Regions from separate parts of the Homo sapiens genome. Here all the other regions are linked to region 4. The links are contacts of gene promoters, found by promoter capture Hi-C in blood cells and fetal thymus (Javierre and others, 2016). All regions are on one chromosome and are shown on one strand. The core of a region is centred on a gene start or on the middle of the fragment in contact, and the rest is flanking DNA. Distances in the headings are between cores, read along the strand shown. Region 1 holds the start of TRS-AGA2-1 (tRNA-Ser (anticodon AGA) 2-1). Region 2 holds the start of H3C4 (H3 clustered histone 4). Region 3 holds the start of BTN3A2 (butyrophilin subfamily 3 member A2). Region 4 holds the start of H3C10 (H3 clustered histone 10). Region 5 holds the start of TRR-TCG4-1 (tRNA-Arg (anticodon TCG) 4-1). Region 6 has its middle 2.6 kb from the start of H4C6. Region 7 overlaps LOC285819 (a long non-coding RNA gene).

Region 1 (3,972 bases), core at 849-3,348, 1.5 Mb after region 4:
TGAAATCTACAGACTGTGCAAAGCTTTTGAACTTTTGGAGAAATGTTTAGACAACTGACGAAATGCTTGGGGTTGAATTAATGAAAAGTGTCTAGAAGCTTAAGCAGTAAAACAACAAGAAAAGACAGTTATGTACTAATGCCGGGGAAAAATAAAAATTGCAAGGAAAGGAAAACTTAACAATGTATTTCTTTGCCCACTTGTTGAATTATGTTTATAAAGTTGTCATATTTTAAGCTACAAATATTAAAGTATCATGTATTGTGCTATAACCATATGAGAAGACTTAGAAAGGGAGCATGTGTGTGTCGGGGGTCCTGGGGTGTGAAGAAGAAAGTGAACCAGTTACTCCTCTTATATAAAGTCAACAGAAGGTCCATACAAACATATTATTTAGAGATATGTAGGTAAATAATTTTAAAATAAGCTATTTAAATGTTTAAAAAGTAGGCTTAACCACTCAGCCACGACTATAGGTGCCAAAAGTTTTCTTAAACGTCGTACATGTTATTATATGTCACATATTGTACCTCTCGCTTTACCAGGAATTTAATAGCTGAGTTCACGTCCTGCCAACAAAACTTAGAAGGAATCAACAAACTTCAAGTTCAGGCGCATATGTGGTAAGCTGAGAATGTTCTTTGGGTGTTTTCTATAATGCAAATCAGGAATATGTTTCAATAACTTTAAAAATTGCTAGAGGACAGGGAGCAGAGAAGAGACTTGATTTTTGTTTCAAGTGATTCTTGAAATTATGAGTATGCGAAAAGGATAGAAAAGAAACCAAAATTGTTTGCTATCTAGAAATTTTCTGTTTGTGAATTCTCAATCGTAACTCTCACAGAATGACACAAGGTTTTCCCAAACGGACGTGGTGGCTCACGCCTGTAATCTAGCACTTTGGGAGGGCGAGGCGGGCTGATCACTTGAGATCAGGAGTTCCAGACCAGCCTGGCCAACATGGCGAAACCTCCTCTCTATTAAAAATACAAAAATAATTAGCTGGGTGTCGTGGCACATGCCTGTAATCCCAGCTACTCTGGAGGCTGAGGCTAGGAGAATCGCTTGAACTCAGGAAGCAGAGGTTGCGGTGAGCTGAGATCGCGCCACTGCTCTGCAGCCTGGGCGACACAGTGATACATCTCAAAAAAAGAAAAAAAAATTCCCCTGTATTAAGTTTTATCAAGCAATGTGAAAATTGGTCAGTTCTGAAACTTATCAATTTAGTGATGTGATTTAAAAAAAAAAAACTCTTATGTATGTAAAACAATAGTGAACTGAAGCTGGAGTCTATATTATAAAAATTTTTGTCATCTTGTGTAATTCTTTTAAAAATTAAAATGATAAAATACATAAAATGTATATGAGTGCCCAGGGAAGGGGCATTTATGTAAACCTCAAAGTTTCCACTAAAGTCGAACGAGCCAGCCAGGAGTCGAACCTGGAATCTTCTGATCCGTAGTCAGACGCGTTATCCATTGCGCCACTGGCCCTCTGACGAACGAAGACAGGCGTTATACCTATAGAAAAAAACGTTTTGGGATTACCGCGTCCTCCTATACATGAATATATGAAATTTTATTTCTTTCTGATCATAAGGATTTTGAACCCAAAACCCTCCAATTAAAACAAAATATAGTTTTATTTGTTCCTTTGACTTGTTTTACTCATGAAGTATGATTCCTTCGTGGGTAATGAGAAATCCATCCTTGTGCACAATGATTCCTTCCTGAACAATGAAATATCCATTATGATGTAACTTGTAAAAGATCAGAGATAAGGTTTACTTTGGGCAATGAGAAATCCATTTTGAGGACCTCTGAGACATAAATTGAAATTGTCCTGCCCTGAATCCCCAAGAAATCCATTTTGATGTTAACTTGTAAAAGATCGAAAGCCTTTTTACACGTGAAATATCGATCGGTCGGATGAAACCTGCTTGAAGATGCAAAAACCCACTGCCGTAGTCGGCAGGATTCGAACCTGCGCGGGGAGACCCCAATGGATTTCTAGTCCATCGCCTTAACCACTCGGCCACGACTACAGATACCAAAAACCTTATTAAATGTCTTACATGTTTCCATACATCACATATTGTACTCCTTTTATTAGGGATTTAATAATAGCTGAATTCGTATCTTAAGAATAAAACTTGGAAGCAATCAACAAACTTCAAATTCAGGCACATACATGATACGCTAAGAATGTTCTTTGGGTCTTTTTTATAATGCAAATCAGGAATATGTTTCAACAACTTTTACAATTCTCATATTTTTGCCTAGTAAGAAAATTATCCTCAGGCCGGGCGCGGTGGCTCACGCCTGTAATCCCAGCACTTTGGAAGGCCAAGGCGGGTAGATCATGAGGTCAGGAGTTTGAAACTGCCCAACATGGCGAAACCCCGTCTGTACTAAAAATACAAAAAAATTAGCCAAGGTGGTGGTGCACGCCTGTAATCTCAGCTACTCGGGAGACTGAGGCAGGAGAATCGCTTGAACCCAGGAGGCGGAGTTTACAGTGAGCCGAGATCGCGCCATTGCACTCCAGCCAGGGCGACAGAGCAAGACTCCGTCTCGGGGGTAAAAAAAAAATAAAAAATAGATTAAAAAAATAAAAAGAAAGAAAATTATCCTCAGTAAATAACACTGATGTTCCACAGAGATCCCCTATATTTTCTGACAAAGTCCAGTGCCTGCGATATACTAACGGCTCAACAAATGTCAGTACAATTGTAACTATCATTGTAAAACCCCAGAATCTAGATTCATCAAAAGGTTCTTCAGTGAAGATAGGCTTCTGTCTTTTCATAAAACTCAGAATATTTTAACCAGCTGAAAGAACATTTCTGAAAGAAACTAGAAAGTAAAAAATATTTTTGCTGGTCAAATCCTCTTTCGTTTATGGGGCCTTCTCTCACAAGGGGAAGAACAACTGCATCTGATATTCTGTGAATAGTTTGAAATTATATTCAAAGACCACTTCCAAAGGAAGAGCAGAACCCCAGGTTCTAAAACTGCACTACCATTACCACAATACTATGCGTGTGTGTGTGTGTGAGTATTAGTGAGCAAGTCAGGGATTCTGTATTTCATCAATGGCCCAACTCTATGAACAGAAGAAGGGTAAGGAATGATTGATGAACTACTGCTCATGTGCGGATGGATTGAAAATCGTCTCTACTCCAGATCTCTCTCCTCTGGGCTCCAGAATATACAGTTGTCCTATTTTTTTTTCTTGCATGTCCATGGGCATCTCAAAAGCAATGCAACCCCAAAGGAATGTTCCATCATTTTCCTCAAACTTAAATTTCCTCCAACAATCCAAATTTTTGATGAGATACCAAAACCGAAGACTGGCTACCAAGACCGAAGACTACCCTTGTCCTTTTATGTCTCTCTGATTCCCTTCCCAGCAGGCCCTCAATTCAACCTTCTAATTAGCTCTCAAATCTGGCTCTTCTTCCCCAGCCCTCAGACCACCTTTTTTTTTTGTTTTTTTTTGACGGAGCCTCGCTCTGTCATCCAGGCTGGAGTGCAGTGGCACGATCTTGGCTCACTGCAACCTCCGCCTCCCGGGTTCAAGCAATTCTCTTGCCTCAGCCTCCCTAGTAGCTGGGATTACAGGTGCGCGTGCCACCATGCCCAGCTACTCAGACCACTTTTTAAAATGAGGTACTTAGTTTAGGTACTTAGAAGTACTCATGAGAAACTTCTCATTAAGTTATTGCAACAACTTCTTAGTCTTTTGGCCTCCAGTTCCTGATCCCTTAAATAATATATTCATTTATTCATTCTTCCAAAAATTTTATTTTTTTAGAATAAAAATAAGCACTTTGTATATGGGTAGTGAGACAGAGAATTGCCTATTTTTTTCAAATTCTTTTTATGTGAAATAGCAAAAGCCAAGCACTTTGCTAGGTACTGCTCATTCAATGGAGAGCGAGATTTCTAAAGGATTACAGAAGTTAACAAT
Region 2 (3,941 bases), core at 744-3,243, 1.6 Mb after region 4:
CACAGGGTCAGGAGTTCCAGGACAGCCTGACCAACATGGTGTGAAGCCCCGTCTTTACTAAAAATAAAAAAATTTGTCGGGCGTGGTGGCGCGCGCCTGTAATTTCAGCTATTTAAGAGGTTGAGGCAGGAGAAAATGTTGAACCCCGGAGGCGGAGGTTGCAGTGAGTCGAGATCGCGCCACTGCACTCCAGTTTCGGCGACAGAGCGAGACTGTCTCAAAACAAACAAAAACCCAAAAAAGCAAACTAATTAAAATGCAAAGAGACTTTATGTCACATGTAATTTAAATCGATCAATGCAGCGGCTCGTTAGGATTGCAAAGCTGTTAAAAGGCCTGAGACATACAGGAGAGAAGTTAATGTTTGTCAGTGTTTACATTTACATAAAAATATAGTTAGTGACTTAAAGCAACAGAACCAGAACAAATGTTTTATTGTCTTTTGTATGCATCTTAATGATACGAAATAACCTGTAATTTGTAAGTATTTTTTGGGTTTGTTTTTGCAAGCCACTTTCAACTCTACTGAGCTAACCCTAATTAATTATCAATAGGAATACAAACCTACATCCCCTGGAGCCAGACGGCCCTTAGGTGGAGCTTCTTAGCACAGTGTTCAGCATGACTAAAAGGGCACACTGGTCTTTTTGTGCCATTTATAAATTTGGCTTTTTTTTTTTTTTTTTTTTACAGCAGATTACACAAATACCAGTTGAACTTGTAAAAGATAAGAGTGCTTTCATATGAGGATGACATATTGTGGTGAAATTAAATGTGTTCATGTAGCTTAACATCAGGTTTCATATTGTTACTTATGAGTTAATAGTCATGGTGCATTTGGAACAAATTATTGAAAATATCTCCAAGTTTAAATAGACAAATCAAGATATGAAATTAACCTTTCTAAACTTAAGAGGGTAAAAAGAAATCACTTGGCCAATCACAACTAGCGCGCGTCTTTTTAAAACGTTGATCAAAGCCAGTTTCAGCGCCAACATTTAAAAAAAAATTAAGACACGTCATCCTAGTAGCTAGACACAATTTTGCCAAGGAAAACCAAAGTACGTTTTAAATAAAAGCTAGAAACATGGCACAGAGGGGAAAGGGTTGAAAACACCAGCAGTTAAAGATGGACGGAGGAAAGTTTTAATATTTGGTCTACATGCAGGAGATGTTCTGTCAGGGAGTGGGCGTCTCCACCAATCGAGCTGCAGGGGAAAGGCTGCCTTGTCCAATCAGAACAGGGGTGTCTTTATATATACGGGTACGAAAGGCTAGACTTTCGTTTTTTCGTCATTTAGCAGGGTTTAGAAGTTCGCAATGGCTCGTACCAAGCAGACTGCTCGCAAGTCCACGGGTGGGAAAGCGCCACGCAAGCAGCTGGCCACCAAGGCTGCTCGAAAGAGCGCTCCAGCCACCGGCGGCGTGAAGAAGCCCCACCGTTACCGGCCCGGCACGGTGGCTCTGCGCGAGATCCGCCGCTACCAGAAGTCGACCGAGCTGCTGATTCGCAAACTGCCATTCCAGCGTCTAGTCCGTGAGATCGCGCAGGACTTCAAGACTGATCTGCGTTTTCAGAGCTCGGCGGTGATGGCGCTGCAGGAGGCCTGCGAGGCCTACCTGGTGGGGCTGTTTGAGGACACCAACCTATGCGCCATTCACGCCAAGCGAGTGACTATCATGCCCAAGGACATCCAGCTTGCTCGCCGCATTCGTGGGGAGAGGGCGTAAATTGTCTTGTGAATGTGTGCTAACCAAAACCCAAAGGCTCTTTTCAGAGCCAACCACCTTTTCTATAAAAGTTGCTGTTTACTGTTGCTGTCCGTAAACTGGAACCTCTGTTCACTCAAGGTAAGTAAGCATTCTTGCCTCTATCCGTTCCCCCTCCCCTCACGGAATTGGTGCAAAAAGCTTTATTATAATTGGGGAGTTCTTAAAACAGCCTTTAAGGTACTCTTATATCTCCTTGTTTTGGGGGCCGCTTTCTTAGGCTTGGATGCCTCCGGCTTGGGAACTTTCTTGGCCACCTTTGACCAACCAACCTTCTCCAGCAGCCTCCACCAGCAAAAGCTTTTGGGGTCCGCTTAGTACTCTTTTTCGGAATAAGGACGCCCCAAGCTTTCTTGGGCCTCTCGGCTGCCAGGACAGCTGTCTTGGGCATGACTGCAGCGGCTTTTCTGGCCTCGGTCTTGATTTTCCTAACACTGCCTGGTTTGGCGGGAATGAACCTGAGGCGCTGCACTCCTTAGCACGAAGATGCCCTCGTTTGTTTTCAAGGCCCAACTTTATTCAAATAATTTTTAAAAATTTGTATTTATTTTTAGGGACGAGGTCTCACTGTGTTACCCAGGCTGGCCTCAAAACTCCTTAGCTTGGCCAGGCGAGGTGGCTCAGGCCTGTAATCACAGCACTTTAGGATGCCAAGGCGGGCGGATCACGTGATGCCAAGAGTTCGAGACCAGCCTGCCCAACACATTGAAACTTCGTCTCTACTGAGAATACAAAAATTAGCCGGGTGTGGTGGCACACGCCTGCAGTCCCAGCTACATGGAAAGCTGAGGCAGGAGAAGGGCTTGAACCCGGGAGGCGGAAGTTGCAGTGAACCGAGATCACACCACTGCACTCCAGCCTGGGCAGCAGAGCTAGACTCCTTCAAAAAAAAAAAAAAAATCCCCAAGGACAAACAAAACCACCAAAAACAACTCCTTAGCTTAAGAGATTCTCCCGCCTTGGCCTCACAAAATGCTGAGATTACAAACGTAGGCCACCGCGACCGGCAAGGGCCGATCTTCATATCGTAGCCGCCAACACCTACTTGAGCGCGGCCACAGAGAAGGCCGCTGCGCTTCTTGGAGACGGCTAAGTCATTAGTGATGAACTCACATACCGGAGGGGCCTGGACATCTTGCACTTCACTGCAACTTCGGACTTGCAACCTTTTTCTTTACTTCAGTCTTTGACTTGGGAGATAGACCAGGAGTCACGGCATGTACAGTTTCGGACATGATTGTAGGTTTGGATATCTAACAGTTAAAAAAAAAAAAAGTCAGGCTGCGAGTGTGTCTGTGATTACGTGTGTGTCACACACAGACACGCTGCGCGCTGATTGGTTCCCAGCTCAGTCTTTCAGCTTGGCAGCAACCTAGTCTCAACCCTGTTTCTGAGTTGTGTTTGCGGAAATTCAGAAAATCAAAATAGTTTAAATTTCCTGAGGAGGAATCACACCAATTCTATTCTACAATGAACTGGAACGGCTACGGTGTTATGATCTTTACATTTTCTTTCTCTAGTTTTTACTTAAGGCAGCCTCGGCCTTTATCAAAAGTTCCAACTTTCAGAGATTCACAGTTCAGAGGGACAACTTCTTGATTTTCATTTAAAATATAAATTCTTCCATTCGTGTCTTCAATTGTTTGCTGTCTTCTAATAATAGCCTACACATTTTTGGCTTCTCATACATTGAACAACTACTTGATTTTCATTGAGATTTAACGAGGAAATCTGTTTTATATGAGAAGAGAAACAACAGGTTCTTTTTGAATTTCTCCACAAGAACAGCAGTACGGATACTTAGAACAACAGCCCTTTCTGATAAAATTAGCTGGGGCTGAAAATATTTCATGATAGCTTCTTGTAACTATTTGGACGTTTAGTTACTTTGGGAGGGTTCCAGTAAATGTTCAACGTTTCCTTGGGAAAATGGGAAATACAATGATCACTGATTCTCCTGATATTGGGACTGTTTGCATAGCTGAACTCAGGAGAGATCCACGAAAGGACATAAAAGAGACAGAGTTTGACTCATTTAAGGGTCAAAAAAAAATTTTTTTTTTAAATTTTTACTGGGGGAAATTTGTTATTAAAATATTCATGAGTCTTTGGGTTCAGGGGTCTGTCATGCTTGGTGACACGGGGAAAATAGACTTTGGTAAACTATTCAA
Region 3 (3,739 bases), core at 584-3,083, 1.4 Mb after region 4:
ATGCTAAACTGAAAATTGGAGGTTAAGTGAGTGAAAGGACGCTTTGGCCTTTTGCTTCCTTTACTTTTAAAATTATTGGAATGCTTTAAGTTTAAAATTTTCATGTATTAGTTAATAACTAATTATTATGAGGAATAATAGTGACTGGAACATATTAGCTGCTCAGTAAATACTAACTCCTCAACAGTTTCTCCCAAAACAAAGGAGCATGAGGCCTGCAGCCATCATACCAGCTGCTGTGGGTCTGGGAATGGCCTCTGAGAACAAGGTCTGCAGATGGAGGTGGGGAGAGATGTAGAGGAAGCAAGGGAACAGAGGTCTGTGCAGCTGGTCATGCTCCACCCCTGCCTGGATCTTGCATCCACCATCAGACTAAACATTATATTTCACCACATCTTCTGCTCCTCGAAACTGCTCTTTATTCTCCTAAGGAGAAGGAGGTATTATTAAGCTAAGCTAAAAATTTCTCTGCTGTCCTCAGAGGGAGAACTTTTATTTTTTAGGTTATTTATTATTCATTCTTTCTACTATAGACAATTTTGCCAAAGAAAAAAATATAAAGGAATAAAACCTTAAATACTCTGTAGTTATATACTTTGCTAATGGAAGTGGAAATGTTTCTGGAAGCATTTGGCCATGTACACATGGCAAGTGCCTTTAAAATGTTGTATTATTTGCCCCCAAAATTCCAACTATAAAAGTTAGTGTTGAAGAAAAAAATTTAGAGATTGATGCAAATATTTATGGATAAGGCTGTTCAATCTAGTAAAATCTACAGTAACAAAATGTAGAAACTGAAAAATCCAAAATAAAGAGTTTTAAAAATAATTCGGGTTTTTTATTTGTTTGTTTGTTCTTTTTTCTTCTTTAGGAGCGGCTTTCTGAGTCAGAGTAGGCTCACAGAGACTCCCAATAATTATATATTCATACAATGTAGTAGCTTGTAACCATGGGAAATCATGCTTTAGGTTTTGGGGAAATGATGAATGGAAAGAAAACCAAGTACTATCCCTAAAAGATACCAAAAATGGTTTAATATAAGGATCCAGTGTTATTAAAATTATAAAGAATTTCACTTAATTAAAATTATGATTCCTAATGGTTACATGGAACATGTTTTATGACTGAACCATGCATTGTTTGTCTATTCCCCACCTGTTGAATATGTATGTTGGTTCAGATTTTACTATATTATAAATACTTCTGTAATAAACACATTTACATATAAATCTATGAGGCACATCTCTTTTTTCTTCTTCTTCTTCAGAATTTCTCAGAATAGATGCCTTGAGTTGGCCAGAACAGATTTTAAGGGTTTTTTGTTTGTTTGTTTGTTTGCCCTTTTCTGACCACAATACGTTAAGAACATGCAGTTGGAATATTTCTTCATTCATGTTGTCTCCCTTTCCTTCCACTAAATCCCAACCTCTGCAGTTCCTTATACTTTGCAGTACTTCTCCCGTCTTCCCACGTGCCCATATGTGCATGTGCGAGTGTGCACATGTACACATGTACACACACACACACACACACACACACACACACACACACACACAGGCACTGCACCCCTTTCTCTGGGAGAGTACTCTCCCTGCATGCCCACTCACCACTCTCAGCGATTCAGCCCCGCTCCTCCCATGCGTTGTAGCCCAGGCTCTAATCAATTTCCTGCACTTACCCCTTGGTATTCCCATTGGAGAATCAGAGCCCACAGAATAAAGACGGTCAATCAATAATTCTCCATTCTTTCTATTATGGCTTAGCCTCTCATCCGGAAGAAAGGAAAAAGAGAAAGCAAATATTGTCTTCTCACCATGAGAAACAGTAAGAGTCGCTCTTTGGAAGAATTAGTTTTTTGATTGGCTCAGAGGTGATGTTTCTCATCAGTTGCTGGGCAGAAACCACTGAGGAACGTTGAAATGAAAACTGAAAGTACATTGAATTGTACACGTTGAGGAAAAACTCCAGCCCTACCTCCCTTAGTGTTTGTGTTTCTGTGTTTATCTATTTGAATCATTCTTGTGCGTGGATGTATATAAGTATTTCTTTATATTCACCTGTCTCGTGTCTTTTACATGGTAATAGAAATATTAGCAGAATGGAGTAGGAAAGTAAAAAAATTTAATGTGCAAAGAGAGGAAGATGTGCACTAATTAAGATGCTTCTGTGGCAGTTTGCTTGCATGTAGATAGGTACGTAGAAGAGGAGGATCTTTTTTACAGAGCCTAATAAAGGTATGAATGGAAAGAAAATGAGACAAACTGCACCTCTTTAAGAACTTCTGGCATTTAGGCTTAGGATATGGTATCAAATAATATAATTTTTCTGATTTCCAGAGGCAGTGCTGCTTGACATTGTTTTACCTTTCCCAGGAAATTCTTACTGCAGATCTTTCTGAGCATCTTCATTCACCCTCAGCTCCTGGTTTGTGCTATATTGTATTTTCTTGGGTATTTGTTTCTCACGCTGCCAGTGGAGTACATATTCTCTGAAGCTAGACACTCCATAGGCTGTGGTCTCTGTAAGGCTCGTTTCCTGTACACCATCTCTGTAAGGAGTTTATGGGACAATCTTGTTCTCCCTGTGGCTTACGACCTCAAAACACACTTTTTTGGGCTGCAAGCCAGAAATCTCCTAGAGCTAATATGTGACTGGAGCTGATGGGATTTGATTATATTGCAACAGTTTGAATTTAGGCTGTGTGGTATCTGCTTGAGATGGCTGGTTGCTTCTGCAGCGTGCATGCCCCCTTCTTCTTAGTGACAAGGCCTAATTTTCTGGGGTACTGCATCCTGCTCTTCCCCCTTGAAGATAGGGCAGGCCAAGGGACTAAGTTGGAGCCAGCGGTTTGTAGGTGAAAGTTGTGGGCTTGTACTTCTCCCAGAAATCCTTCAAAGGGAGGCCAAAATAGCTGGGAGTGTGAGGGTACACTCTCCCTTCTTCCTTCTTCCTCTTGCCTAGAACATGGACTTTGGACCCGGAGGTGCAGTAGCCCACCCTGGGACCATGAGGCAGCCTTGAGGTTGGAAGCCACACACTGGGACAGCAGAGAATGAAGTCAGAAGCAGGCTGGGGCATGAATGACATATCTGAGGTGCCAGATCAGCCCTGGACTGTCACCATCTAAATTTATTTAAAAAATTTTTTCTTTTAAAATATTTTATTATATATTAGTACTCAGGGTAAATTTCCAAATAAGTTTGTTTTTCATGAAAGGAAAACAAATCCTTGTTTTATTTAAGCCAGTGGTACTTCTGGTCTCTGTTATCAACAGAAAAACACAATTTTTCCCTCCCCCTTCCCCCTCCCCAACAGTTTATTATAAAACTTCTAAAACATATAGCAAAGGTGAAAGAATTTCAGTAAATTCCAATATATCTACCATGTAGATTGTATAATTAATATTTTAGTTTCTTACTTTATTATAAATCCATCCTGCTGTTCACCCCTATTCATCCATCAATATTTGTTTATTTGTTCATTTGTTTATTTTTAAATTCAGACTCTATCAGAAGCTGTGCTGCTTGAGATCGTATTAGTAAGAATGAACATCCCACCTTTGCCTGGAGGGTCCAAGTCACTTTGACACAAAGAAGCAGCCAATGTGCTAAGCTTCAGATTAGGAGTTTCTGAGCCCAACTCTTCATATCTCTGAACTTTGTAGTTTCCAAACTATGAGACCCCTAAGTTCATTTCTCACTCAATGTCTTTGTTTCTTCAGCTATGGGTAGGGATGTGA
Region 4 (3,742 bases), core at 638-3,137:
ACCCACACACAAGAAAATGAGGATGAGCAGATTGTGAATGTTGCAGTAGTGATCTTGATATCAAATTTCCAAAAAAGTGTATTAAGAATGTAACCAATTCTAATAACTGAAGATACATAAATAGCCAACTGAAACAAGATAGAGAATTAAAACTGCTTTTTAAAACTCAGTGTAAAAATACTATGATCTTTCCACTTACATCCTTCACAGGTTAAGCTAAGGAGAGACAGAGATGATAACACACATACACAAGCCAATTTGCCAGGGAAAATCTTGAATACTTATAAGAATGCTAGAGAGCTCACAGAAGAAGTTATAGAAATCTAGCATTCTGAATACAAGAATGGATGAGGTAAGGGCTTTCCTGGCCCACAAGAAGCTGATTTGAGCATATCTACCAAGCTGATGTATTTCTTTCATTTGAGATTTTCCATGTGGGTATGTCTCCTTACTATTATATACCCATGCATTCATTCATTTATCCAACAAATACTGATCAAAAGCTCCTACGTTACTGGAGATATGCGAGTAAACAAAAGTTCCTCCTCTCATGAGCCTGTATTTTAGAACACACAAGCAATACATCAGCAAACTCTGGTACAGCATATAGTGACAAATTCTAGGGTGAAAAAAATAGGTGGGGATTATACAGATTTTATTTAGTCATACAAAGCCTCATTGAGAAAGTAACATTTAAGCAAAGACTCAAGTATTTTATCCTGTGCTCAAAAAAACTACCACAGGCTTACCTACAAGGCAGTCTTATTTTGAATACTCCTGACAGTTCAGAGTTTTAGCCACTGTCAGCAGAAGTCAGAGAAAACACTTTCTCTCCCACACGTATTTTTACATGGGGCTTCAAAGGGAATGTTCTCTGGCGGGCTTTCTCCAGAAGACTTTTAAACCTCAAACCATCTGTCATTAACTACATTTAAGTGGTTTAAGCAGGCCCAAAATCCGGCTTGAAAAAATTCAAAGAAAACTTAACACTGCTTAGGAACGGGGGGCGGGGAGAGAACGTTTCACTTTAGCCAGCATGAGCTACATTAACCTGAATTTTTCCAACTTCAGTACAACCTTAGTTTTATTTCTGGCGTGTTGGCAAGAAATATACACACACCACAGTACAGGTTAGCAGAAAATTAGAAGCACCATCCGGTCAAAACCGGGCTGCGGAGATGGGAGAGCAATACACGAAGGAACTTTTGGCTACACTCAATGCTTACGGAAAAATGCCGGACATTATTAGATGTTAAGACTCCCAAAATTAGCATTCAAAAAGGGATAGGCTGAGTCTTACGAAACAGATTGTATAACGTCTGGAAATGGGCCCTATCTACTACAGGCAAAACAAGTACCAGGAAGAATTCCTGAGAGAAACAGATCTTTTCAGCGCGCATGTGGGTGGCTCTGAAAAGAGCCTTTGGGTATGTAATCAGTGAGTCCTTGAGACTCAAGCCCTCTCGCCGCGGATACGACGTGCGAGCTGGATGTCCTTGGGCATGATAGTCACCCGCTTGGCGTGGATGGCGCACAGGTTGGTGTCCTCAAAGAGCCCCACCAGGTAGGCCTCGCATGCCTCTTGCAGCGCCATCACCGCGGAGCTCTGGAAGCGCAAGTCGGTCTTGAAGTCCTGCGCGATCTCACGCACCAGACGCTGAAAAGGCAGCTTTCTGATCAGCAGCTCGGTGGACTTCTGGTAGCGGCGAATCTCGCGGAGAGCCACTGTACCAGGCCGATAGCGATGGGGCTTCTTGACACCGCCGGTGGCCGGAGCGCTCTTCCGAGCCGCCTTGGTGGCCAGCTGCTTGCGCGGAGCCTTGCCGCCGGTGGACTTGCGAGCAGTCTGCTTCGTACGCGCCATGCCTTCAGAGCTAGATTCACTTCAGGAGAAAGAGAAAGCTAGCCGCTTATTTATAGTGAGAGTCTGAAGCTGATTGGACAAAAGTATGCTGAAGGCCTACCCAACAGTAACCGGATTGGCGAAGGACTCAAATTTTTGTTGTTCACCTATTCCTCTGACAGACTTAGCAGTTCATGGTCTCCATATTTTATTTTCTATTTTCGCTATACAGTTGTTCACTATACTAGCGATTTCCAGTGGAAATGAGAGCAATATAAGTAATTTACACTTATCTAGGAGAACATTGTAACAAAACAAGGAAAAATTAATTTTTAATATTTTGCTTAATCCAATATAGCCAACATATTTCAATGTTATCGAAATTAAAATTGTTAGGTATTTTACACTTTTTGGCACTGACTTTTCCAAATGCAATGTGTATTTTATATAAAATTCATGCTATGGAATTTCCAATGATCACTATCCACAATTGGCTAGTGGCTGCAATACTGGACAGGACAGCCTTATACACCTGTCCCCTCAATTTTCTATCTTTTGACCACTTAAATTTAAAAAACTTCTATTTTTATAACCAAGAAAAGCTGGTTCGCATGTGAGAAATTCAAGGCCAAAAAATGTCAAAGAAACAACTTTATGTGAACTTTTCACTTTTAGATTAAAGTAATTCCATTGCAGCTTATTTTTCCAATACTCTAGAAATGTAATTCATTTTCTTTTAAGAATCTATTCCATTCGTACATCCAGATCTGATTCAGATTAAAAACATCAAGTCAGATATTTTAAAAGTGGAATTTACCATGCTGAAACAAATTAAGTCATCTCTGTACTAAGAAATCAATTTGTGTGGCTGGGGGTGGGAAAGCTCGGGAAATTTTAATTTCAATGAATTTTCAGAAAATGCTTCAAAGAGAACTACCTGGCACCATAAGTAACTGTTCTAATTAGTCTAATAATTATTCTCAACTCAATCATTAATGTTCAAATGCAATTAATTATACAGATTCGAGAGATATTTCTCAGAAATGAAGAATCCAAGTCGTTGATCTAGATTTGGATTGAACGTCGAATGCCCGGTTTGTTATTTACCAAGACCCAGAAAACATCTGGCCCCAAAGCAGACATGTTTGCTTCAACAGACTAAAAGTAAAACCCGACGGTGAACCATACAGAATTCAACATACTTGGATAATGCCAGCTTAGGAAAAACTAAATTTTCTTCCACTAAGCTTAAGATGAAGGCGTGTTTAATACTTTTAATGTTATCCAGGCTTTTTATAAAGCTAACGAGATTGTCACTACCTAACCAAGACACCGAAGACTGATCTACGTAACCTTTGGAGTGGTTTAGAAGTAGGCAAAGACGAGAAATTACATTAAACATAGTGCTCAGTTCTTCCACAAAATTGTAGGTGGCTCTGAAAAGAGCCTTTGGTTCCTTTGGGATTGAGTTGCTGCAAACTAATCCAGGCTTCTACTTGCCCTTCGCCTTGTGGTGGCTCTCGGTCTTCTTGGGCAGTAGCACGGCCTGGATGTTGGGCAGGACGCCACCCTGTGCGATGGTGACTTTGCCCAGAAGCTTGTTGAGCTCCTCATCGTTGCGGATGGCCAGCTGGAGGTGACGCGGGATGATGCGAGTCTTCTTGTTGTCGCGGGCCGCGTTGCCAGCCAGCTCCAGGATCTCGGCGGTCAGGTACTCCAGCACCGCCGCCAGGTACACCGGCGCTCCAGCACCGACCCGCTCCGCATAGTTGCCTTTGCGGAGCAGGCGATGCACTCGGCCTACGGGAAACTGAAGCCCGGCCCGAGAAGAGCGGGTCTTGGCCTTGGCGCGAGCTTTGCCTCCCTGCTTGCCACGCCCAGACATGGCAAAAGGCCTAT
Region 5 (3,983 bases), core at 138-2,637, 1.5 Mb after region 4:
AGGGGGGCTACTCTATTAAATTCATGAATCTCTTAATCCCCTGTGCAACTGGACCCAACTCCCAGTGTTTGTGATACACATCTAGAAATCTTTCTTCTTGATTTATTTTCTTCCAGTTGCTTTTTTTTAATCCAGCTCCAAAAGATGTTTTTCATGTTATTTATTTATTTATTTTCTGAATCCCACTCTCAAAGCAGAAAGGCTTACACATTCATCAAAGGGTGCATATATTTTTATTTGGTGGATTTGGGACAAGTTCCTAAATCACGGTGACCATTTAAGACTCAGGATGTCCACAGATTTCCCTATCTTTTTCAGTTTTCTCCCTTTTGGCACTTCCCAGTCTGGAAAGTCTCTCTCCTCCTTTTGGCATTCTTTGCTATCAGTGCAGTAGAGAAAGAAAGAAAAAGAAGAGAGAAAGGGTTATGACAGGCAAATTTTTATATTCTTGCATCAGAATTTCCACTTTCATTAAATGCTTGAGGGAGGCTGTGGGGCCCCTGGAAAAAGTCTTGTTCATCCTCTGGTACACAGGGTTACATACTGATCAGAGAGAGAGGAGGAAGCTTTTTCCTGTTCTTAGAATCAAGAAAAAAGGTGGGCTATGTAATTCTCAAGTATCACTGTATTCATTTTAAAAGGTTACTCTTCTTTTGAGGTTATATCCTTTTTCTAGTTTATAAAAGGATGCTCAGTGCAAATGGTGGGTTTTGCCATTAACAAGGCAGAACATGGTTTTGCATGACATTAGGACATTGACACTTTCTAATCCAATAAATTTCAAAGTCTGGAAACCAATGCTCAATCCCCACATTTTTTATACAACTTGGAATCTACAGATGACTAGAGGAAACCAGAATCAAACAGAGCTATGGAAGAAGCTGGGGACAGGGAGAGGTAATTATTACTAATTTTAATATTCTTTGCTTTGATCTAGAAACACACTTATGGACTCCATGTGATTTGAATCAATGATCTCATCTGGATGGAGTCAAATGTCTTATGTTTCATCATGATGTCAGCAATTGGAAATTACTTTTCCTTAATCCTAAATTATTATTAAATTCAGGCACACAAAATGTTATTTAGGAATACAAAATGTTTTTTATATATTTTGCACAGCTGTGTTCCCTGTCTTTTCCTGTTTGCACACACACACTGTAACCAGTTGGACTATTTTAATTACCTTTATATTTTTGCTTTGCAATATAAAATTCAATATTAGGTATTCTCATCCTTTTGATGGCAACACACCCACAACAAAAAAGTTAAAATGGAGAGTAAGAACTAGTAACATAGGCTTCAGCAGCTGCCAAAACTCCTTGGTACACGCGGATGTAGACTAAAAAAGAAATGTGAAGAGTTTTTGGCCTAGTGCTAAATCAGAAGAAGCAACAGGTTTCCTACTGTGCTAGCCACTGGGGCCTGGCATTAGTCTGAGACGCTACAGTTTGAGACAGCTTGGCTTATAGATCTGAATTTCTTTTTTTCAAGGAATTGAATCCTTGAATTGAATCTAAGCCTACAAAACCGAAACGCAGGTGCTTAAAATCCAAACTTGGGGAGAACCTGACAGCTCCAAAGTAGTAGATGGCTGTATTTCAGTTTTGACTTTCCAGTCTTTCTTCACTCTGTCACTTGTTCTCCTAAGGCCTTTGAGAATGTCTCCTTCTTCCCTTTAAAGGAGAGGAGATGGAAGAAAAAAAGGATTCAGAAAACCCAGAGAGTGTATGATTTATTTTTTTCTTGGAATGAAATGGGTAATAAAATTTTCATGCCCGAAAACGAACCCCACTTAACCACGAAGGGATTCGAACCCTCAATCTTCTGATCCGAAGTCAGACGCCTTATCCATTAGGCCACGTGGTCCCCCGCAGTTCCGTTGTTGCTGCAATACTTAGAAAATAAAACGAGCTTCCCCCCACCCGCCCCCTCCAACCCCCCGTGTTGGCATCTACAGCGCCCGTGTTTTCGCCAATGAGAAAATGAAAACTTTAGATTAGGTGGGATATTTGGGGCCACAGAATCGGGATTTATAAACGGTTGGTATCGACAATTATTTTAGTCTTGTGGTAATATAACTACTCCTTGGAGAGAAAAGTCGTTTGTTCTGACTCCCAAGGCAGAAGAAGCGGAGTTTATGGCATCTAAAAGATGCTAAAATTCTGCATATTGTCTGCATCGAAGGATATGTTAAAATAAGCTTACTCAAGGTTTCTTCCCTATGATGCTCATCCACATTCACCATTTACAGACTAGGTTCTTGCAGGGTCTGCCCAGATAGTTGTTAAGAAAACTGTACCTGGAAGGCAGTTTTACCACAAGGCAACATCTGTACCGTGGTCTTTCTCGCCATCCTGCATGGATATCTGCAGACCCCGGAGACAATTACCCCCTCTCCATGCTGTTCTGGTACTTTCTCTGATTGTGATAATGTGATATCAGAGCACTTTTCGTGGTATGGTTCTGTTTAGAAAGGAAAGAAAATACTTTCCTTGGGGTTTCTCAGGAGTGCCGAGCGGACTAGAGCCATTACCAGTTTTTGAGGTTCCCATATATTAAGAAGTGAAGGAACACGAAATAGAAATGCAAAAATTTTTATTATTAACAATTTTTACATTTAATAGATGAATCAACACGAAAATGTAATGCATTAGCATCATACTATGGAGAAGATATTTATAGAATTTATAATGTTCCGTAGCGCTCTTGGCCCCATCATGGCATATAAAGTTCTATTTTGTGTGGCTTCTTTCAAGCCTGTCAGTGAATCTCTGTGAAGTCAAGTACTTCATTTGAAGATAATGTCAACAGCCTACATATAAGACATTTCCTTAATTTTCCTAAACCCCAGATACTGGGAATAATGGCTCTCCTGGCTCATTTGTGATAAGTCTTGGTTTCTCTTGGTTAGCAAATATAGCGGCTTCTGGTGCATAGAAATTGGGCCTTTTACATAGTCTTTCTTTCCCTATCCATAGAATAACATCTGACAAATAGTAGGAGCTCAATAAAAATATGCCGAATTTCTCATTTATTTTCGAATTCTGCAATCATCTTCAATGTGAGAATTATTATTATTATTATTATTATTATTATTATTATTTTTGAGACAGAGTCTCACTCTGTGGCCTAGGCTGGAGTGCAGTGGCACCATCTCAGCTCACCGAAACCTCTGCCTTCCAGGTTCAAGCGATTCTCCTGCCTCAGCCTCCCAAGTAGCTGGGATTACAGGCGCCCACCACCAATGCCTGGCTAATTTTTGTATTTTTAGTAGAGACGGGGTTTCACTATGTTGGCCAGGTTGGTCTCGAACTCCTGACCTGAGCTGATCCTCCCACCTTGACCTCTCAAAGTACTGGGATTACAGGCGTGAGCCACCACGCCCGGCCAATGTGATAATTATTTAACAATATTCTTCTATTCTGCAAAAATCTTTGTTGCTCTCTCTTTCTCCTTCCTGGAGAAGATTGATTGAAAGGCTATTATAATATCTGGATGACCCATAAACCATTATGGGTAGTGTTTGTAGAAGTATCAAGGAGTGGTTGAATTCTGGGTATGTTTTAAAGGGTTTGTGATTAAATTGGTGTGAAATAAATAGAAAAGTCATATATATCTCCAGTTTCTTTTGCTGTAACAACACAGTTTGCATTTACTGAGACAGGAATGACTTCAGAAAGAGCATTTTGAGAGTGGAGTGTGTATGTGTGTGGTGGGGATCTAGAATCTGTTTCAGCATTTACTTCAAGTTGTGTATTGAACATTCAAGTGGAGATGACTAGTGTGGAGTGGTCAGATTTAAATAAATATATACAGTCCCAAACTTTCCCTTTCCCAAGTTAGAAAAGAAGTGACTTGCTGAAAAATAAACCAATCAAGGACCAGATCATAAACATGAAAACTCTAAAGACTTTTTTCCTTTATTTCCCCCCTTATTGATTGATTGATTGATTGCTGCACCTCCTGGAATGGGACAGAGA
Region 6 (3,515 bases), core at 50-2,549, 1.6 Mb after region 4:
CATGTTGGCCAGGGTGGTCTCGAACTCCTGACTTCAGGTGATCCACCCACCTTGGCCTCACAAAGTGCTGGGATTACTGGCGTGAGCCACCACGCCCGGCCATTTTTATTAATTCTTAAAATGTAGCAATACTTCTTAAATTTGGCCAATCATGAGACTTAGCGTTTGGCAGAGACATATACATTCACATCGTTTTTGGCATTCCTAATAAAGAAAGACCTCTAGTAAGGGAAACCAATATTAATTGAAGTTTCATTCTTAGTTTTTCAATGTATAATGCAATATCTGAGGTGTAAAGATAAGGAATCCCAGGCTTGAAGACATTATCCTCTAATAAATGGCATTGTATTGTTGGCTCGATTCTGGAGTCTCACTACCTTGCTACCTACCACTGCTTTCATGCCACTAAAGCATACATGGTAAATCATGGTGAATAAAGGTTTGTAAATTAACAAAAATAATACTAATAAATTCTGTGAAATACTGTCCTAATAAAAGATTCCGGAAGAAGTGTTCTACACACAGATCATAGGGTATGTGTAGTAGAAAAATTCAACATTAACTCTTACAGTCTACTGCTTCACATTCATTGCCTCCTATATACTGCAAGGGTAACTTAAAAATCCCGTCTCTGCTGGTGCCTAAAAGCAGTGAGAAGATTATTCATTTTGTGGAGTTAAGAGTCTACTTAAATTTTGGCTTAGGTTCAGTTACCTGTAGGAATAGACACAAGGATCTCAAGTGCTCTCCTTTTTGAGGTAGGCACCAAACAAGCATCATTCATTCATTCAACAATTTAATGTCCACTACATGCCAAGAATAGTGTACAAATACCAGGTTTACAAAGATAATCACATTTATTCTCTTAAAGAACTCAAAAGTTTAGTAAAGGGAAAAGTACACTCAGGGTTAGGGGGCAGATATCAGACCAGCATACTTCTACTTACTGTCAGGTATTTAAGGGCGGAGCAGCCATATCCCAGCTATACTGGCATCACTCTGAAGCTTGTTAGACATACAGAATTTCGGGCCCAACCCCAAATCAATGGAATTGATATTACATTTTTAATGAGATCTCTAAGTGGGTGGTAGGTATGCTCTTCCAAGTTTGAGAATAATTGTTTTAAAGCTCTGCTGTCCTATATTAGCCACTAGCAACATGTGCTCATTTTTATTTAAATTAATTTAAATTAAAAATTAATTTGCACACTTACTCTAGCCACATTACGGTACTCAGTAGCCACATATGGTTAGTGGCTACCTATTGGACAGTGTTAATACAGAATATTTTTATCATCGCAGAAAGTTTTATTGGGCTGTATCTGTGATAAGGGGGTTTCTTCTGAAGAGCTTCTAATCCAGTCTAGAAGGGAGGAGGGAGTTTGGTGGATGCCTGAGACATGTAAAGAGAAAACTGTAAGTTTGAGTATAGTAGTGGCCTTCTTAGGAAATAAAATTAACACAATACTGTTGTACTTGAAGAGGAATTTCAAGGAGCCAGTGTCCTCAGGTAAGACTACCTCATAGACGGTTACAATCGATGTGATTTCTCATGGACTTTTTGAACACGTTTGATTCTAACACAAAGCTTTATTTTCTATAATAGTCTATATATGTTTTCACCCCTTTTAATATTTATTCTATATAGTTTCTTTTTTTTTTTTTGGAAATCTTTAAAATCTGAATTGTGTGATGCTTAAGCACAGTGTCACTGGATTGATCTATTGAATACTACCTACAACTCTCATAGTCATTTACTATGGTGGTGGTGGGGATGGGGGAGTTAACACAAAATGAAGAGAACACTGGGCCTTAAGTTAGATAGCTATCACTTATCTAACTAGTTTTTCCTAGCTACTTTTTGCATCTATAAAATAAATGGTTCCAACCTCAGTGTAATGGGAAATCTACTGTTTTAGATTATATTCAGATTTAGGATTCCAAAGCAACACAGAACTCTTTTTGAGGGCTACCAAAGTAATAGGTGAAACTTTGCAGGACTTCAAGTTTACAGTCCATGGGGTGATCCAGCTTTCAGGAACCTTGTCCTTGCTACAATTACAGAGAAGATAAGTACCAGGTCCCAACTTATGTAGCCTAGCCCCTTTCCTCTTTGAACATCTGGCGAACTTTGTTGGTGAAACTGAGTCTCAGTTATTGCCCTCCAGAAAGAGCAGAGATTAGTTAGCCCAATGCCTTTTTACTTACTGAGATCCTAAGTAGCTATGGGAACCAGTCAGTGTTGCACAAGAATGAAATGGTGGCATCTGTTAATTGACTATATCTAACACGGTGAACAATTCCAACAATTATTCAACAACTATTAAGACTACAATAATGATCAAAATAATAAACAGTAAACAATCTGAATTTTAATTGTACCTTTACGTCTAGGCAATATAAAGCTATGGTCCCAAAAAAAAATACTTAGAGTATGCTTGTGACTATCACTGTTGAAAATGATATCCATAATGATGCACCGCCCCTGCCTCCAGAAACCTATAAAATGCTTCCCTACTGGAATTGTGGGGTCCTACTAATCCAATTCTATAAGTTTAGCTTTTTTATAAACCACATTTGTATTTCAGTGGTGTATAACACGGTCTTAAGTCCCAGAGACTTGTTTCTAATACATGCAAGAGAGTAAATAATTACTTAAGACAAGCTTAGTAATTTTTTTTTTTGAGATGGAATTTCACTCTTGTTGCCCAGGCTGGAGTGCAATGGCACTATCTTGGCTCACTGCAACCTCCGCCTTCCGGGTTCAAGCGATTCTCCTACCTCAGCCTCCCAAGTAGCTGGGATTACAGGCGTGTGCCACCATGCCCGCCTAATTTTTGTATTTTTAGTATAGACAGGGTTTCACCATGTTGGTCAGGCTGGTCTTGAACTCCTGACTCAGGTGGTCTGCCCAGCATGGCCTCACAAAGTGCTGGGATTACAGGCGTGAGCCACTGCGCCTGGCCAAGACAAGCTAAGTAATTTTTATGAAATTAGTTGAATGAGGAGAGATGACATCTTTAAAGTTGATTATTTTATCTAGGATTTATATGAAAAAATCCTCTAATCACTATTGAGTGTAGGCCAGAATAACTTGATTTTTTGAAATGAGTATTTTTGTTAGAAGAAACATAACATCAAACTACTTCTCTTGTTTCTTCAACATAGGAGTTCATTTCAGCATCTGATTACTTGATGGAGAATATCAATTTTGTGCTTAATTATTTAATAATAACCTAATTCCATCAGCTGTATTGCAAACTAACAGATAAAGAATACTGAAGTTACTCATGTTTGCTTTGAAATGTTTGTTCAGCTCCTTAGGTGGACATATTCAACCAATTAATTTAGGGTGTGACAGCTTAGTTCATATTTTGTGTGTAAAAAGCCAAGTAGAATGATGAAAATTTACAGTGATTTAAATCAGATATTTTTCTTTCTAACCCTTGATGCCCACACTTGCAATGTTGAAAATTTGTATTTTATTTTTTTAAAGTGACTTTTACCAGTTATTC
Region 7 (3,689 bases), core at 698-3,197, 1.3 Mb after region 4:
TTAAGCTTTCAGTTAGTTTACATACTAAGTTAGGTTGCAGTTCATTATTTAAGGGCTCAAGAGCCATCCCTCAGGCTAAATGTATACATATCTCATACCAAATTTAGTTTAATTTAACACAATTATTTCTGCTTTAGTTAAGATTCTCTGATCCAGAATAAAGGAAAAGAAAGCATGTGCTGTACACTCGGTCCGAGAAACACTAAGAGAATCCTCTTTGTAGGAATTCGTGTTTTGATTGGCTCAGAGGTACCATTTCTCATCAGTTGCTGGGCAGAAGCCACTGGGGACGGTTAGAATGAAAACTGAAACGATATTGAATTGTACACATTGACGAAAAGTTTCAGCCCTACCTCTCAAAGTGTTTGCAGCTCTCTGTGTTTACATATTTGAATCATTAATGTGTGTGTTACGTGTACAATCAGTGTTTCTTCACATTCAGCTGTCTTTTATATCATAACAGAAATATCAGGAGAACTGAGTGGAAAAATGAAAAGATTTTAAGAAGAGAAGATAGGTATTAATTAAAATGATACTGTGGCAGTTTGCAGACATCCCCTTGCATGTAATTGTTACATGGAGGATATTATCATCTTTTGTTTTGGATATTATCATCTTTTACCACAGAGCCAAATGAAAGTATGAACATAATGAAAACTAGATCTATTGCATCTATTTTAGTACCTCCAAAATTCAGGTCTCAGATCCATTACCGAATTATAGAATTTTCTGGTATCCAGAGTTAGTGCTGTCTATAACTGCATATTTTATATTTTTCACAAAATTATTTTGGGTGTGACTGAAGCTTTCTTCACCTCTTGCTCCTTATTTGTGCCATACTGTATTTTCATGTGTATTTGTTTCTCACTCTGACAATGAAATATGTTCTAAGGTTAACCTTTGGGTAGACTGTGGGGGATGTCTTTGTAAGGGGTCCTTGCTACAAACCTTGGGACCTAGTGATAGCAGACAGGAGGCAGTCAGATGCCTAGGCAGGTAGCAATGGGTCCCCAGTGATACCCCACCTCCAAGCTGAAGACAGTTTAAAGCCTGAAAGCCAAACTACAAGGTAAATCCTCAGCCCAAATTGAGAACTTGTTGAGAACTTGTCTTCCTGTTTGGTGCACTTTCCTCTGATTGGTCCCCACCCTTCAACTACTTTCCATATACCCACACTTTCCTAATTGTTTTTTTACACTGTTGTGGCCATCTTTGAGTGGTGTCTTCACTTTAACCTTTTTTGCATACTCACAAACCATTCAGCACACACTTCCCATTCTGAGTCCATAAAACAGGCCTGGACCCAGCCACACAGGGGGAGCTTTCCTGCCTTCAGGTAGGGGTGCCAGCATCCCCTCTCTGCTGAGAGCTGTTCAGTCGCTTGATAAAATTCTTCTCAGCCCTCCTCACCCTTCAACGTCTAGTGTATCCTCATTCTTCTTGGGCATGGTACAAGAGCTCAGGAACTGCTGAACGTGGGTATAAGCTATAACACAGGTGAGCTGGGGCATGCCAGTTTAGCCAAGCGAGGCTTGGGTGGGGTGTTGCTGGCCAGAGGTCCCCTGCTTGCAAAGTGACAAATAAAAATCCTGTATCACTAGCACTTGCAACTTTAGTTGGGTCACAAATAAAATATAAAGGCCTATCATTTGTTTATGTTATAAAACAGACCCTTAAAGTAATTAAAACTCCTAGGACTTAGCTGAAACCTTGGCTGGTAGAAAATGATACTACAACAGTTTGAATTTAGGCTCTGTGGTAGAGTTGGCTGGCTGCTTGTTCAATAACAGATCTACTTTTCTCAGTAATAAAATCCCATTTTCTTATTGCAAGGTGTCCATCTCATTTGTAGACAGGGGAAGCCAAGGGACTAAGTTTGAGCCAATTGCTTGAGGGTGGAAGTTTATCAGACAGATTATTTAAGGGGAGGCTAAAACAGCTGGTAGACCCTTACACTCCCCTTACTTTCTACTTCCTCTTATCTAGAATATGGACTTTGGAGCTGGGCAGCCCTTTTGTGACCATGAGGCAACATTGAAGATGCAAGCCACATGCTAAGACAGAAGAAAATAAAGACAGAACTAAGCTGGGGCATGTATGACATTTCAAGCTCTCAGATCAGCCCTTGATGGCCACCATCCATATTTATTGACATGAAAAGAAGTCCTCATTTTGTCAAAGCCAATGATATTCAGGACTGTTATTAATAACAAAATACAATTCTTCCCTCTACCCACTACAGTGTATCATGAAACTCTTCAAACATATAGGAAAGTTGAGTATGGAATCTCTATCTCCAGCCTTGAGGTCTCACCTGGACTCTTGGTTATTCAATGGACTACTCTGCATCTCCATGTGCATCTCTAATATAGACTCCTCAACCTTAATGTATCCACAACTGAACCTTTGGTTCTGTACCACTCCCGTCTTGCTCCTTGTCTCTCCGTTTCCCCATCTCAGAAATTAACAACTTCATCTTTCCAGTTACTTTTCCTTCCTTCCTTCCTTCCTTCCTTTCCTTCCTTCCTTCTCTCTCTTTTCTTTTTTGAGAGTCTCACTCTGCCACTCAGGCTAGAGTGCAGTGGTGCACTGCAACCTCCACCTTCTGGGTTTTAGTACAGACAGGGTTTTACCATGTTGGCCAGGCTGTTCACGAACTCCTCACCTTAAGTGATCCACCTGCCTTGGCCTCCCAAAGTGCTGGGATGACGGGCGTGAGCCACCGTGCCCGGCCCATCTTTCCAGTTTCTTGGGACAAAAACCAAAGATCTACTTTTCTCCTTTGCCATATGAGGACACATTTAAAAGGCTGTGAACAAGGATGCAGGCTCTTACCAGTTACCAAACTGCTGGTGCCTTGGTCTTACATTTCCCAGCCCCCAGAGTGCAAGAAAAAAAATTTTGGTTGTTTATAAACGACTCAGTCTTGGTATATTTGTCATAGCTGTCTGGGCAGACTAAAACATGCACATAAACAACCCTGTTTTCTGCCTTAACAAATCAGGTATTTAAATATATGTTCCTGATTCTTCCCATAATGTGTCATTTGTAATTTCAGTAATATAATTTCAGACTGTTTAAAAAGCTTTTTGTTCAACCCAGTTTTACAACTGGATTACTGAGTTGTCTAAAATCCAAAACACTATCATTTAAGCCAGCATTTTAGATGCCTGATCGTTTCAGTCAGGGTTCTCCAGAGAGACAGAACCAATAGGGGATACAGACATGAGAGGGCATTTATTAAGGGAATTGACTCATGCAATTATGTAGCCTGAGAAATCCCATGACGGGCCATCTGCAAGCTGGAGACCCTGAGATTCTGGCAGCATGGCTCAGTCAAAGTGTGACAGCCTCAGAACCAAGCTGATGGCGTAACTCAGTCCAAAGACCCAAGGCCTGAGAACCTCAGGGCCACTGGTATAAGTCCCAAAGACCAAAGGCCGGAGAGCCTGGAGTTGTGATATTGAAGAGCAAGAGAAGAGTGTTCCAGAGAGACAGAGAGAGAGAGAGAATTCACCTTTCCTCTGCCTTTTGCTCTGTTGGGCTCACAGCTGATTGGAAGGTGCCCAAAGATATTGATGGCAGATCTCTTCCACTCAGTCCACTGACTCACATACCAGTCTCCCCTGGAAACACCCTCAGAGACACATCCAGAAATAATGCTCCATCAGTTGTCTAGGTATTCCTTA

What was found. Contacts are between HindIII fragments. The CHiCAGO score rates a contact against its expected background, and 5 or more counts as called.
Region 1: a contact is called between a fragment that was not itself captured here and the fragment with the promoter of H3C10 in region 4, in 5 of 17 cell types (total B cells, total CD8 T cells, monocytes and 2 more). The highest score is 11.5, in total B cells.
Region 2: a fragment that was not itself captured here is called in contact with the fragment with the promoter of H3C10 in region 4 in 17 of 17 cell types (fetal thymus, total CD8 T cells, erythroblasts and 14 more); the score reaches 41.7 in fetal thymus.
Region 3: the fragment with the promoter of BTN3A2 here is called in contact with the fragment with the promoter of H3C10 in region 4 in 12 of 17 cell types (M1 macrophages, monocytes, activated CD4 T cells and 9 more); the score reaches 11.6 in M1 macrophages.
Region 5: a contact is called between a fragment that was not itself captured here and the fragment with the promoter of H3C10 in region 4, in 2 of 17 cell types (erythroblasts and M0 macrophages). The highest score is 8.2, in erythroblasts.
Region 6: a fragment that was not itself captured here is called in contact with the fragment with the promoter of H3C10 in region 4 in 16 of 17 cell types (erythroblasts, fetal thymus, megakaryocytes and 13 more); the score reaches 30.2 in erythroblasts.
Region 7: a contact is called between a fragment that was not itself captured here and the fragment with the promoter of H3C10 in region 4, in 1 of 17 cell types (monocytes). The highest score is 5.1, in monocytes.

The regions. Positions count from the first base shown.
Region 1 is chr6:26,325,661-26,329,632 of GRCh38, reverse strand. TRS-AGA2-1 (tRNA-Ser (anticodon AGA) 2-1) reads right to left here and starts at 2,044; the gene lies at 1,963-2,044. TRR-ACG1-1 (tRNA-Arg (anticodon ACG) 1-1) reads right to left here and starts at 1,493; the gene lies at 1,421-1,493. LOC101928743 (a long non-coding RNA gene) reads left to right here. Exons shown (of 3, transcript XR_241992.5): 2 at 546-623. The HindIII fragment of the contact is 3,995 bases long and covers 101-3,972 here.
Region 2 is chr6:26,194,630-26,198,570 of GRCh38, reverse strand. H3C4 (H3 clustered histone 4) reads left to right here and starts at 1,285. Exons shown (of 1, transcript NM_001376937.1): 1 at 1,285-1,787. The coding sequence starts at 1,321. The coding sequence ends at 1,731. It also overlaps the pseudogene H1-12P. RefSeq lists enhancers at 64-123, 956-1,556, 1,935-2,044, 1,557-2,158, 2,905-2,954 and 1 more. The HindIII fragment of the contact is 159 bases long and covers 1,914-2,072 here.
Region 3 is chr6:26,363,292-26,367,030 of GRCh38, reverse strand. BTN3A2 (butyrophilin subfamily 3 member A2) reads right to left here and starts at 1,833. Exons shown (of 11, transcript NM_007047.5): 1 at 1,679-1,833. RefSeq lists an enhancer at 1,826-1,875. The HindIII fragment of the contact is 4,055 bases long and covers 1-3,614 here.
Region 4 is chr6:27,808,196-27,811,937 of GRCh38, reverse strand. It overlaps H3C10 (H3 clustered histone 10), which reads right to left and starts at 1,887. Exons shown (of 1, transcript NM_003536.3): 1 at 1,402-1,887. The coding sequence starts at 1,864. The coding sequence ends at 1,454. H2AC13 (H2A clustered histone 13) reads right to left here. Exons shown (of 1, transcript NM_003509.3): 1 at 3,271-3,742. The coding sequence starts at 3,728. The coding sequence ends at 3,336. RefSeq lists enhancers at 878-1,549, 1,644-1,933, 1,550-2,221, 2,905-3,503, 3,422-3,621. The HindIII fragment of the contact is 5,605 bases long and covers 1-3,092 here.
Region 5 is chr6:26,297,563-26,301,545 of GRCh38, reverse strand. TRR-TCG4-1 (tRNA-Arg (anticodon TCG) 4-1) reads right to left here and starts at 1,869; the gene lies at 1,797-1,869. It overlaps LOC124901287 (a long non-coding RNA gene), which reads right to left. Exons shown (of 2, transcript XR_007059520.1): 2 at 2,582-3,983. The HindIII fragment of the contact is 1,637 bases long and covers 569-2,205 here.
Region 6 is chr6:26,236,005-26,239,519 of GRCh38, reverse strand. No RefSeq gene overlaps it. Among named protein-coding and RNA genes, the nearest start is that of H4C6, 2.6 kb to the left of the region's middle. The HindIII fragment of the contact is 583 bases long and covers 1,008-1,590 here.
Region 7 is chr6:26,470,491-26,474,179 of GRCh38, reverse strand. LOC285819 (a long non-coding RNA gene) reads left to right here. Exons shown (of 4, transcript NR_038992.1): 4 at 1,987-2,236. It also overlaps a transcript of BTN2A1 not described here. Among named protein-coding and RNA genes, the nearest start is that of BTN2A1, 14 kb to the right of the region's middle. RefSeq lists an enhancer at 296-345. The HindIII fragment of the contact is 2,280 bases long and covers 808-3,087 here.